2 separate regions of the Homo sapiens genome follow, and region 2 is linked to region 1. Evidence: promoter capture Hi-C in 16 types of primary human blood cells and fetal thymus (Javierre and others, 2016). All regions are on one chromosome and are shown on one strand. Each heading gives the region's core, a stretch centred on a gene start or on the middle of the fragment in contact. The rest is flanking DNA. Distances are from core to core; before and after follow the strand shown. Region 1 holds the start of MIR205HG (MIR205 host gene). Region 2 overlaps LOC105372896 (a long non-coding RNA gene).

The links. Contacts are between HindIII fragments. The CHiCAGO score rates a contact against its expected background, and 5 or more counts as called.
Region 2: a contact is called between a fragment that was not itself captured here and the fragment with the promoter of MIR205HG in region 1, in 2 of 17 cell types (M0 macrophages and M1 macrophages). The highest score is 5.1, in M0 macrophages.

What each region holds. Positions count from the first base shown.
Region 1 is chr1:209,425,400-209,430,899 of GRCh38, reverse strand. MIR205HG (MIR205 host gene) reads right to left here and starts at 2,080. Exons shown (of 4, transcript NR_145437.1): 1 at 1,812-2,080; 2 at 1,492-1,719; 3 at 424-475. RefSeq lists an enhancer at 2,159-3,082. The HindIII fragment of the contact is 6,862 bases long and covers 1-2,128 here.
Region 2 is chr1:209,245,939-209,251,438 of GRCh38, reverse strand. All of the region lies in intron 2 of LOC105372896 (a long non-coding RNA gene), which reads left to right. Among named protein-coding and RNA genes, the nearest start is that of LINC01696, 77 kb to the left of the region's middle. The HindIII fragment of the contact is 514 bases long and covers 2,448-2,961 here.

The sequences.
Region 1 (5,500 bases), core at 831-3,330:
GGGCTTGTTGGCAGGCAGAGATCTGGGTAGTGAGGGGAAGAAGACTGGTTCATCTTCTCCTGCTCTGCCTTCTTGATAAACACTCACAGTTCTCAATAATGAGAGGAAAATGCACCCTGCTTGTGAATTATCTGGACCAGATCCTCCTCCTGCACCGCCTTTGACCCATTCCCAGTCAAAGGGAAGAAAGAGGCCAGTCTGTTGGCTGTAATAAATAAATGATGGCCTGGGATGGTAGGAGGAAATGATGCCAGGAAGGCAAGATTCTTTGCCTTCTCTTTAGATTTCTGCTTAACTCCAAGAGCAAAAGGGGCAGTCAATTCTTCTCCCTCCAGACCCTCGGCACCCCGCTCTTCCCCTCCCAACATGTACAGTCCACTAGATTATTAAAGTCCTCACTCTGGAGTGTGCAGAGAGCCTCACCCTCATGTGGGGTCCGTACCCTCCAAGATGGGTACTTGAGAGATGACAGTGTCTGCAAAAAGCAAATGGGAGGTGGCATTAATGTCAGAGAGCCCCAGAAAGGTGAGTTCTTTCCTTATCACTCTCCCCTTGCTTTACAGACCTGTAGCTGCTACAGGCAGAGACAAAAAACCATGAGTCACAACCTGTATCAGGAGACTTGACCTGCTCTGGACTCCTTGTTCAAGATTCTTCTGCCCACTATGCCTTTGCCAACTGAATCCCCCAGTGGCCTTCACCATGGTTACATGGGTCTAGAGCCAAGCACATGCACGATCAGAGAACAAACCATGCATGGGCTCGCTACAGGGTAAGTCCATCCAGTGACCACTTTCTTCCCCCCAGCTGCCCTCAGGATTACGTCCCAAGTGTCTTCATAACATTAAAACCAACTTGAACATGAGACTCAAAGAATGAAACCACGTCCTAAATTTTCCAGTACAGGTGCACCCTGCACCCCAGGACTGAAAAACCAGCCAAATCTCTGTTCTTCTAGTTGAGTAAATCTCCACAAAACCAGACAGAGCTACAATCTTGGTGCTTAAACTGCTCAGCACCCACCTTATCACACCAATTCCTATTATCAGCAGAATTTACTGCCTGGGATCCCTGGAAATCCTTGAGAAAACACCAAAGTGGCTGAGGATTGGTTTAAAATGCAGCAGGTTCAGCTATTTTAGCCTTGGAGGAAGTTGATAATTGACTTGCAGTGAATATGGCATTTTCCAGTCTCCTCTTCCTGCCCAATGAGCCCCCTGATCTAGCCACTCATCTTTGTTTTTCCAAAGTTCCCCAAATCCACAGATTTCAGACTCACCTTTAAGTACGAGTACCTGTGCCTTGAGACATCAGGACCTAGCTTTGAGTTTGCTTCAAAATAAGAATTTTTTTTTTTTGTCATAAGATAATGCAGAACAGAGAGATGGCTACAGCCATGCAGATGAGAAGAAGAAAAGAAATTTCAAATCTTGGATGTTTCTTTTGCCCCTAAGGCTTGAGGACAGGGAACAAAAAATGAGAAACACTTACCCTATATAAAGCACCCAGTTCAGCAGGCCTGTGCGGAACAGAAATGACTCCTGAGGAAAGGTGGGGGCCGGTCCTGAATAGTTGATTTCTCTCTTTAATGAAAAAGAACATGAGGCCGGATGCGGTGGCTCACGCCTGTGATCCCAACACTTTGGGAGGCCGAGGCAGGTGGATTGCTTAAGCTCAGGAGTTCAAGACCAGTCTGGGCAACATGGTGAAACCCCGCCTCTACAAAAAAATACAAAAAATTAGTCAGGCGTGGTGGTGTGCGCTTGTAGTCCCAGCTACTTGAGGGGCTGAGGCAGGAGAATCGCTTGAACCTGGGAGGTTGAGGCTGCAGTGAGCCCAAGATTGAGCCACTGCACTCCTGCCCGGGCGACAAAGTGAGACCCTGTCAGAAAAAAAAAAAAAGTAAGCAGAGGAAAGTGGAATTGAAGGAGAGGGAGTAAAGGTAGCTGGAAAAGAGAGAGTTTGGAGTATGGTTGAGAATTGAGCTGAATTTTTAGAATAGAGATTAGTAACAGACAATAAAAGAGAAACTGGTTTTTCCAAGTCAAGGGTGAGCAAGAGGGACTCAGCCCATTTCAAGGAGGTGGTACTAGTTTCACTCTTTATTTATGCACCTCTCAGCAAAGCTTCAGGTTACCTGCTGAACTCAACCAATGGAGAAAGGGCCTGGCAGCTGGTCCCACCTCTCAGAACCCACACCCCTGGGGGACCATGAATGGAGAGGTCTTTCTGCAGGCTACCCGTACTTTCTCATTGTTGTGTGAACACCAGAAAAGGGAAGTGAGGTCTTTGTCATCCCAGAGTTGGAGAGACACTGCAGGTTATCTGAGCCTTGCACCTGAAGCCTTAGTCCTCCCAGAGACCTACCTAATCGGGGAGAGGGGAATGCTAAGATTTTATCTTGTCCTAAGGAAGCTGAGTGTTTGTGTGTGTGTGTGTGTGTGTGCGCGCGTGTGTGTGCGCGCTTGCTTGCTTGAGCTTTTAGCCTGACCTGAGTTGCTGTCTCTACACAATGCACTTCGGGAATCCAGCAGAGATAGGCCAGTCCATCCAGGCAGAGCTGTAGAAAGAGGCCGGAGGGTCACAGTCGAGGCCCAGCCAGAGGCTTATCCTGGCATTTAGTACAGAGTAAGTCTGCTGCTCCCCTTGTGAGAAGCAAGTGTTTCTTTTATAATCCGAAAGGCTTTGTGACCTGCTTCCCTTTCATGTCTGGGGGTGGGGAAAAGACCACACTGCGAGGGGAAATTAAGGAAAGAGAAGGCAAGCTCATTAGTAACTTTAAAGAGGGCGGTCTATAAACTTGATTATTTTACCCCACCCCCGCTTCCATGCGCAACTTGGGCTCCGCCTCCTGCCCCTCCCCTATCTCTCGGCCCATCTTGCCAGCTTCCCCCTCCCTCGTTCCCCCTTCCAAGTGCACACCTGGAGGGCAAGGGAAGTTGAAGTCTCCTCAAATGTGCCACATTTCACCCAGGATCCTGGCCTGCTTTCCATTTGTTCTCCAGGTAAATCTAGTGTGCAGCGAAGGCAGATTCCTCTATTCTCCAGCGGAAGGGAGGGAACTGAAGAATCCAATCTATAGGACCTCTTAGTGCAGTCCTGTCCCACAGCCCTTCATGGAACTGAATCATGCCTGCCCAAAATCTCCCTAGAAATCAGCTAATCTAAACTTCTTACCGCATAGACTGGGGAACAGAAGTTTTGAAAGGTGAATTTCTGTCTTGCACAGCCAGTGCAGAGTCAAGATTCTAATCTACCTGGATCTCCCAAACCCCATTTAAAAGCCCTTTAAAACAAACCCTACACGTTGTTTTCCCCGGTTCTGGCGGACCTGAAGCTTGTCTGAACTATTCTGGATTCTTCCTGGGAGAAGAAAAGCCTCCACTGGTGAAGAAGAAAAACCAATACAGACCAATAGGAGGAGGGCAGGGAGATCTTCCACGTGATAGCTTCCTTAAGCACCGGACTCCTCCCCTAAACCGTGGAGCTCATGGCTTCCCTGCTGACTGGACCCAGTTTGCCTACACTGAGCCTCAGCTCTCCCATTTCCCAAAAAGTAATGCAGGCAGAGAAGCGAATTGTTCCTGGCCACAGTGATACACCCACATTGTGTGCTGAAGACTCTGGGCCCCCTTCTGACCTTTCCCTGCTCCCTCTCTCCCTCTTCCTTCCAGAATAGCATTCATTCATTCATTCACTTACTCACTCTCCCCATCACGTATCATTCCATGAGCATCGACTCTGTGCCAGGTGAGTGAGAGGCTGCGTTTACCCCCTAGGAGCTCCCAGCCTAGATGGACATCTACAAGAAGAGGCAAAAACATAGGCCAATGAGGAAAAACATGATGAATATCCCCCACAAAGGGAACTGCCGCATTTGTCTGTGAGATTCAGGGAAGGCTCTACAGACAGAGTGACATATTGGAACTGAATCTGAAAAAATGATGGCGGGCTGAGTGTGATGAAGACCTGCGAAAATTCAGGCCTTGAGGGAGGAGCTCTCACATGTTCAGAGCAGCCTGGGGTGCCGGGGACTGGAGAGCGCAGCCATCTTGTGATGGGCCTGTGGATTTCATTCACAGGTCAGGAAGCTCCGGAAGTCTCGAGACAGGGAATGAATGGACCAGAACTGTTTTTCAGAAGCCAGTTAGGACTGGAGGCAGAGCAACTGACTGCTGAGGAATATGACTGCCCCCAAAATATAGGGGAGAGGAGGGTAAGGAGGAGTGCCTAGGGCAGACGATATCAATAGTCCTGCTGGTCATATTCTGTCCCCTTGAGGGTTCATCTTTGACCTCTAAATTTGTTCAGAAAAATGGGATAAACCTATAGATTTATTGATTCTATATCCATCCAATACAGTAAAGAAAGACGACCTGCCCAAAATTATTATTATATTTTCTTCCCTTCAACTTCAGTCACCACAGCCCAGGAGGATGCTCTGTGGACTGACTGGACACTGGTTGGTGTGGAAGGTCTAGAGGGTGGGGGAAGCATATCTGGGTGGCTCTGCTGGAAGTTTCTTCTTCCAGCCCCTCAGCCTGGCTCTTTGTTCCAGAGTCAGCTTGTGAGGCAAAAGCCTTGATGTCCCTCTTCCCCTAGGTTTCTAGTTCCGTGTCTCTGAGAGGCATTCCGCAGAGTCATCCAGGGTGGTGCTGTGCTTGCCTGAGTGTGTCTGGGGTACAGGAGATGGAGATGGGGAGTGGAACAGCGTAGTGTGGTTGGAAGGGGAGGATACAGGGCTTCCTTCCGTCTCCACTGAAGAGTAGCCATGGTAACCGTGGTTTACTCACTTTGGCTGATCTTGGGCCTCACCTTTTGTTTTCATGCACTGTATGCCCCCTTGATCCTCATTTCTCCTCCCCCTCAACTACCCCAGCCAGAGTTCCTCTACTGTTAGAAGTTCTTGGTCCTCACATGCATTTCTGGCTCCTGAAAAGACTCTGCCATTCTCTCTGCTCAAATTTCCAGCCCCAAAACTAACTGCCACATCTTCAGTTTTTGAAGAAAAAGATAAAAGACCTGAAATTCTCCAAAGTGTTTTAACACGTGGTTAGCATTAGAGTTAGGTATGGGTCTCTCTGACTAAATTCTGCTTATAAGCTCATCTAACTTTGCAGCTTCCCCTCCATGCCTAGCACTGTGCCTGAGGTCTTCAATAAAGGTCTGTTGAATCAACCGCGGTTATTTCTATAGGGGAAGAACACCAAAAGATAAGCTACCTAGGTTCCACTGCACAACATTTGGAGTGGACTGGACTCTTGGGGGTGAAACAGTAAGGACAGTGTGTTGTAGGGAAGCAGTGTGTTCCCAGGAAGCTGCTGGGGACATCAGGGTCCATGACCATAATGGGGATGGCCCTTGGGGTGCCTGTAGACTGGAACTTCATCACCAGCCTTCTCCTGATCCAGGTTTACAGCTTTGTTACATGTATTGAGGAGCTGGGAGGACCTCTCCCTGAGACATTTCTTGGTTAGGATCCAGAACTGGGAAGTATGCA
Region 2 (5,500 bases), core at 1,455-3,954, 180 kb after region 1:
CCTGGTGTTCCAATGCCACCTGGAATGACACATCTTTGCTCTTCTCTGTATTAGCTTCAGTTTCAGACACACTTTTGCTTGTAGTGGCAAGAGAGCCCCCAGCATTTCCAGACTCAAACTCCATCTCACTAGTACCAGGAAAAGTTCCAGGTGGGCTCCCATTGGATCAATTTGAGCCATGTTCCTTCTCTGAACTAATTACTGTGGCCAGGGGAATAGGATGTCTTTATGGATCATGCCTTAGCCAGTTGTTCACCCCTGAAGCCTGGAGTGGGGCCAACCACACCCAAAGTACATGGTCTGAGAGTAAGCAAGAAATGATTCCGCCAGGAAAATCAGGAGTCTTCTTTACAGAAGAGCAAAGATGCTGGCAGGCAAAAACAACAGATGTCCACCCCAGATGCCAACAAGAAGCCAAAGTCATAAAACTGAACCAAGTACAGTTATGTACCGGTTTCTGGAATCCACCAGGAAAGGGTCAGATCTATATGAGGACTCAAGGTGTAAATGACAATTGCCCAGACGGCATTCTATATAAGGGTCTCTTTTTTAATAAATGTTTCAGGCCCTCCCTGGCCTGCTCCTTAACGCTTTAGAAAGAAACCTACTCTTTCTAGGCCTGACCCCAGAAACCCTAGTGCAGAAAGGGATCCCTTTGTAGAATGCAAGAGTGTCCTCCTGCCTTTCACTTTTTCATTCTCACAAAGTCTGGTCTTAAATCTTCACCCAGGCTAGACTCCTCCCCACCACATACATCTGTTTCTCCATTGATGCTACAGAGTAATCAGAAAGGGTCATTGGTATTGCTGTTCTGGTGAACATATCCATTGAAACAGATGCGTAGCAGATACCTGGGGCAGGAGTGGGAGTTGAGCAATGTGGCCCCGGCATAACTAGCATGAAGAAAAACCAAGGTAGAAGAGAAGAAGTGAGGAGCTGCCTAACAGGTTATATTTACCAAAATGTTTAAAAGGAAGGAGGAGGAAGCATACTTATTAGAAGATCTATCTCCATTTAAACAGCTCGCAAAATTAGCCGTCTCACCCATATGCCAAACACTGACAAAGAAAACACAACAGTCCTAGCACAAAAAAAGAGAGAGCAGAGCTGCAGTCTCAGGCTCTGAGAGGGCTCATTATCAAAGCTCTGTCTCCATCCTGTTGATATCAATCCTGGCAGGGCACCGTGGCTGCTGCCAGTGGAGAGGAAAAAATTACCCAGGCTGACGCCTCCAAATAATTGATAATTTGCCTCCTAAATGAACAAATCAAGTAAGATTTAATTGTTGGCGGGGACTGCCATCCAGGAACAGCAAAGTATATAATTGCTTAAGCATTACATATGGCTTTCCACGCATCCCCCCTCCCTCCCCCTTTCTTTTTATAAACCAAACATAATTGTTTAATGACATTGATGGGGAATAGACTTGTGACATTAAAAATGACACTTATGACATAACTGTCAGTTGATGACAGCTCACTGACAGCGCCAGTGAGAAATTAATCATTTTAGATGCTTTATGGTTTGCTCATTTAATGTCACAAATAAGATCTTGCTATCTAACCACATATAATCTCTCCCCGACAACCAACTCTGGTCCCTCTCCAGGGACAGTTTGGTTATTATCCTGCCTCTGGTATGGGGGCTGGCTGAGTGGGGCCTGGGGTAAGATTTTAGGAATAGTTGGTGGTGGGTTACCTGCAGGGAGGGGCTAGAAATTCCCTGGGGAAATTTGCACCTGAGCGGAGTCCACATTTAGTTCTCTCACTTGCCACTTGTTTAAGGAAGCTTTCAGGGGGAAAGAGCTAAACTGTTGGGACTGATTCTAATAAAGACAGAAAGCTGAGGAAGTAGAGAGGCTATTTTTAGCTGGTTAATGGGGAGTAAATGGGGCCACCCTGTGATATGCTAAGATATGCCTTGTGCTCATTGCTGACTGGTACTCCCACACTCTCTGCTGGGCAGACATCTGTTAATTGCTTTCTGTTGGACTTCACTTTGACATTTGGAGAAATGGAAGGAGACTACCTAACTATTTTCTCCCTAAACGATGTCTCTGTGGAGCTTGGGAGCAAGGGAGGAAGGAAGTGAGGTGAGTTGGAAGCTTGCTCTCTGCTCGAGTTTGCTAAAACCTTCAACACAGTGTGCCCAAGGCACTTTGGCCTGGATTTTATTGAAAACCCCTGTGTGGGCTCCAGACAATCCGTCACTGAAGTCTTTTCTTCCATGCTGCATTGGCCTGTGGTCTATTTAATCCGAACACATGCTTATCTCTCTACCCACCTTTCCATACATTTTACTAATCTTGTAAATAGATTCTAAAAAAATAATAAAATAAACTTTCCAATTTATAACAAAAAATGTTCTTCATCTCGTTGTGCATGCATCAGTGCTTTCTTGAGGAGGCAGCTCCTGTCACCAAGCAGCAGAAGGCTAAAAATCAAGCTTCCTAGGGTGAAGGTGGTAGTTTCACTCGTACGTAATCTTACCCTGCCTTTTCTTTCATTTAGACACCTAAGTTGCATTTGTATTTGCATTTAGTTAGGTTTAGCTATGTGGTGTAGTGCAATTAATGGCCACTAGGTGGCAACAAAGGACCTCTTGGCCTGATTATTGGCTGTAGGCAGTGACTGATACAGGTGAAATGAGCCTGCCTTCTGTTATAACAGTACCAGTGAAGACTTATTTGATGCTAACCACCTGGCAGGCACCATCATAAGTGCTTGCTTCTTATACATTAACACTTCGATCTGCAACAATCCTGTGAGTATTACAGAGATTAAGGAACTCACTCACATACCTAGCAGTTGGCAGAGCTGAAATTTAGCTTCGGTTCTGACTAATGACAAAGGCTGTATTCTTAGACTGCACTTTACTACACCCTTAAAAAATACCCTTCCAGTTTGGGGAAGAAGTTGAATAGCCAAAACAAATGCCTCACCATCACTGAGCTCTGAAGCTTCCTTCACATAAAATAAGAAGAAAAGGACACAGAAAGAGCAAATTTATCAAGGTACACAGACTCTCAGAGTTGGACAATTCTTGACCCTGTAGCCTAGGCTCCCATCCAGTAGAGGGGTCTCCCTGGCACAGCCCTGAAAGAAGATCACATGGTCTCTGCCAGACGACTTCTGGGAACTGGTCGCCAAATGAAGGTGGCATGAGTTTCTTCTCTGTCTGCTCATGGTGACTTTTCTTTCTAAGAAGAGGAATTCAGAGAGAAGAGACCAAAAAAAAAAAAAATCCGAACAAACAAATTCATAGCCCCTATCCATCAAAGTAGCTCTAGGGAACAATATGGATATGATGGTTAATTTCATCTGTCCACTTGACTGGACTGTGGGGTGCCTAGACACCTGGTCACATATTATTATGAGTGTGTCTGTAAAGGTGTTTCTGAAAGAGATTAACATTTGAATCGGTAGACTGAGGGAAGCAGATTGTCCTTGCTAATGTGTGCTAGCCCCATCTGATCTGTTGAAGGCTTGAATAGAACAAAAAGGCTGACCCTGCCTAGAGTAAGAGAGAATTCCCCCTGCCTGCCTGACTGCCTTTGAGCTGGGACATCATTTGTTTCCTGATGTTGGATTCAGACTAAAACATTGGCTATTCCTGGGTCTTGAGGCTGCTGGCATTTGGATTGGAACTTACAACATGGGCTCTCCTGGGGCAGCTTGCCACTCCAGATCTTGGGACTTAGCCTCCATAGTTGCATGAGCTAATTTCTTATTTTATTTATATGTAATATATACTATACATATGAATATACAATATATAATATGTATTATACATATGAATATATAACATATAATATATATTATACATATGAATATATAATATATATTATACATATGAATATGTAATATATATGAATATATAATATATTATACATATGAATATATAATATATATAAAATAACAATTAGCTGTATATCATAATATATAGAATTATAATGTATATTACATATAATATATATATAATACGTATTTTACACACATGCACATACATATCCTATTGGTCTATTTCTCTGAAGAACACAGACTAGTACAAAAGGTCAACCAAAAAAATCTAAATTATAAAAGAATGAAAGCTGCCTCCTTATTATATGTAGTGCGTGGTTAAGCAGGAGGGACTCTGTTGTCAGACCACCTGGGCTTTAGTGCTGGCTCTGCTCCCTCCTGTTTGTCCTAGGAAGCTTCAGTGACCTCTTTATAAAGGGGATAATCATAAATGAGATGATGCAGATACAATTCTTTGCACAGTGCTTGGCAATTAGTAAGTGTCTGTTACTTTCCTCAGGTATTTGTTATTTCTTTCAATCAGTTACCAAGCAATCTTGGCAAAATAACTTACTCTACTTTTTTCACAAATGAAAAAACCTAGAGGGGAAAAAATAGGCATAACTCTCCTCTTTTTTCTTCTTGGAAGGGATGCATGAGGTCAAAATGGATTAAAAAAGGGCCAGGCATGGTGACTCATGCCTGTAATCCCAGCGCTTTGGGAGGCTGAGGCAAGAGGATCACTGCAAGGCTCATGACCACTGCAAAGAATCATCATTTAGTCAGTAACCGCTTCCAAAGGAAAGGAGAGAAGCCTTCCTGGAGAGCCCAGCCAGTGCAAACAGCAGTCATTTCTGTGTCACAGCTCTCGGCTTATTCAAACAGGAAAGTGCAGTGGAATGCAGACTGCCAGGGAAAAGCATTCTTACAATATAATGCACATAGCTTTGTGGGCCTCCCTTAGTTTTAAAAATTATTTCTTAAGAAAGAAAGAGGCCTCCCTGGTGTAGATATAAAATTCTTTTAGGCCGGGCACAGTGGCTCACGCCTGTAATCCCAGCACTTTGGGAGGCCGAGGCAGGCAGATCGCTTGAGGTCAGGAGTTCAAGACCAGCCTGGCTAACATGGCAAAACTGTCTCTACTAAAAATACAAAAATTAGCCAGATGCAGTGGCGCGCGCCTGAAATCCCAGCTACTCGGGAGGGTGAGGCAGGAGAATCACTTAAACCTGGGAGCCGGAGTTTGCAGTGAGCCAAGATTGTGCCACTGCATTCCAGCCTGGGTGACAGAGCAAGAGCTTGTCTCAAAATAAATAAGTAAATAAATAAATAAATAAAATTCTTTCAGTGGCACCTGCACCTAGTAAATAGCATCTGATGGAGGAGACTCAAATGCCAGTGCTGAACTTCTGAGCAAGTGGGTTCTCCTCCTTCAGTTCTTGACTCTGTCTTTCCCTCTCCACATTGACATCACTCACATTGCTGGGGAGTTTGTACACTCTCGTGGCTTCAGCTAATCCCTCTCAGAAGGAAACTAGAAGACCTTCCTCTGCATGCAACTCAACAACTGGACATTTCCACCCAGATGTCCAACTATGGCCTAGAACGCTACATTCTGAGGTACCACTCCCTGTTCCTCGGGGCTCCTGGGCTAGACGGTTTGAGCTGATCTTGACCACACCCCTCCCCTTCATCAGTTCCTGCCATGGTTTGCTCTCAGC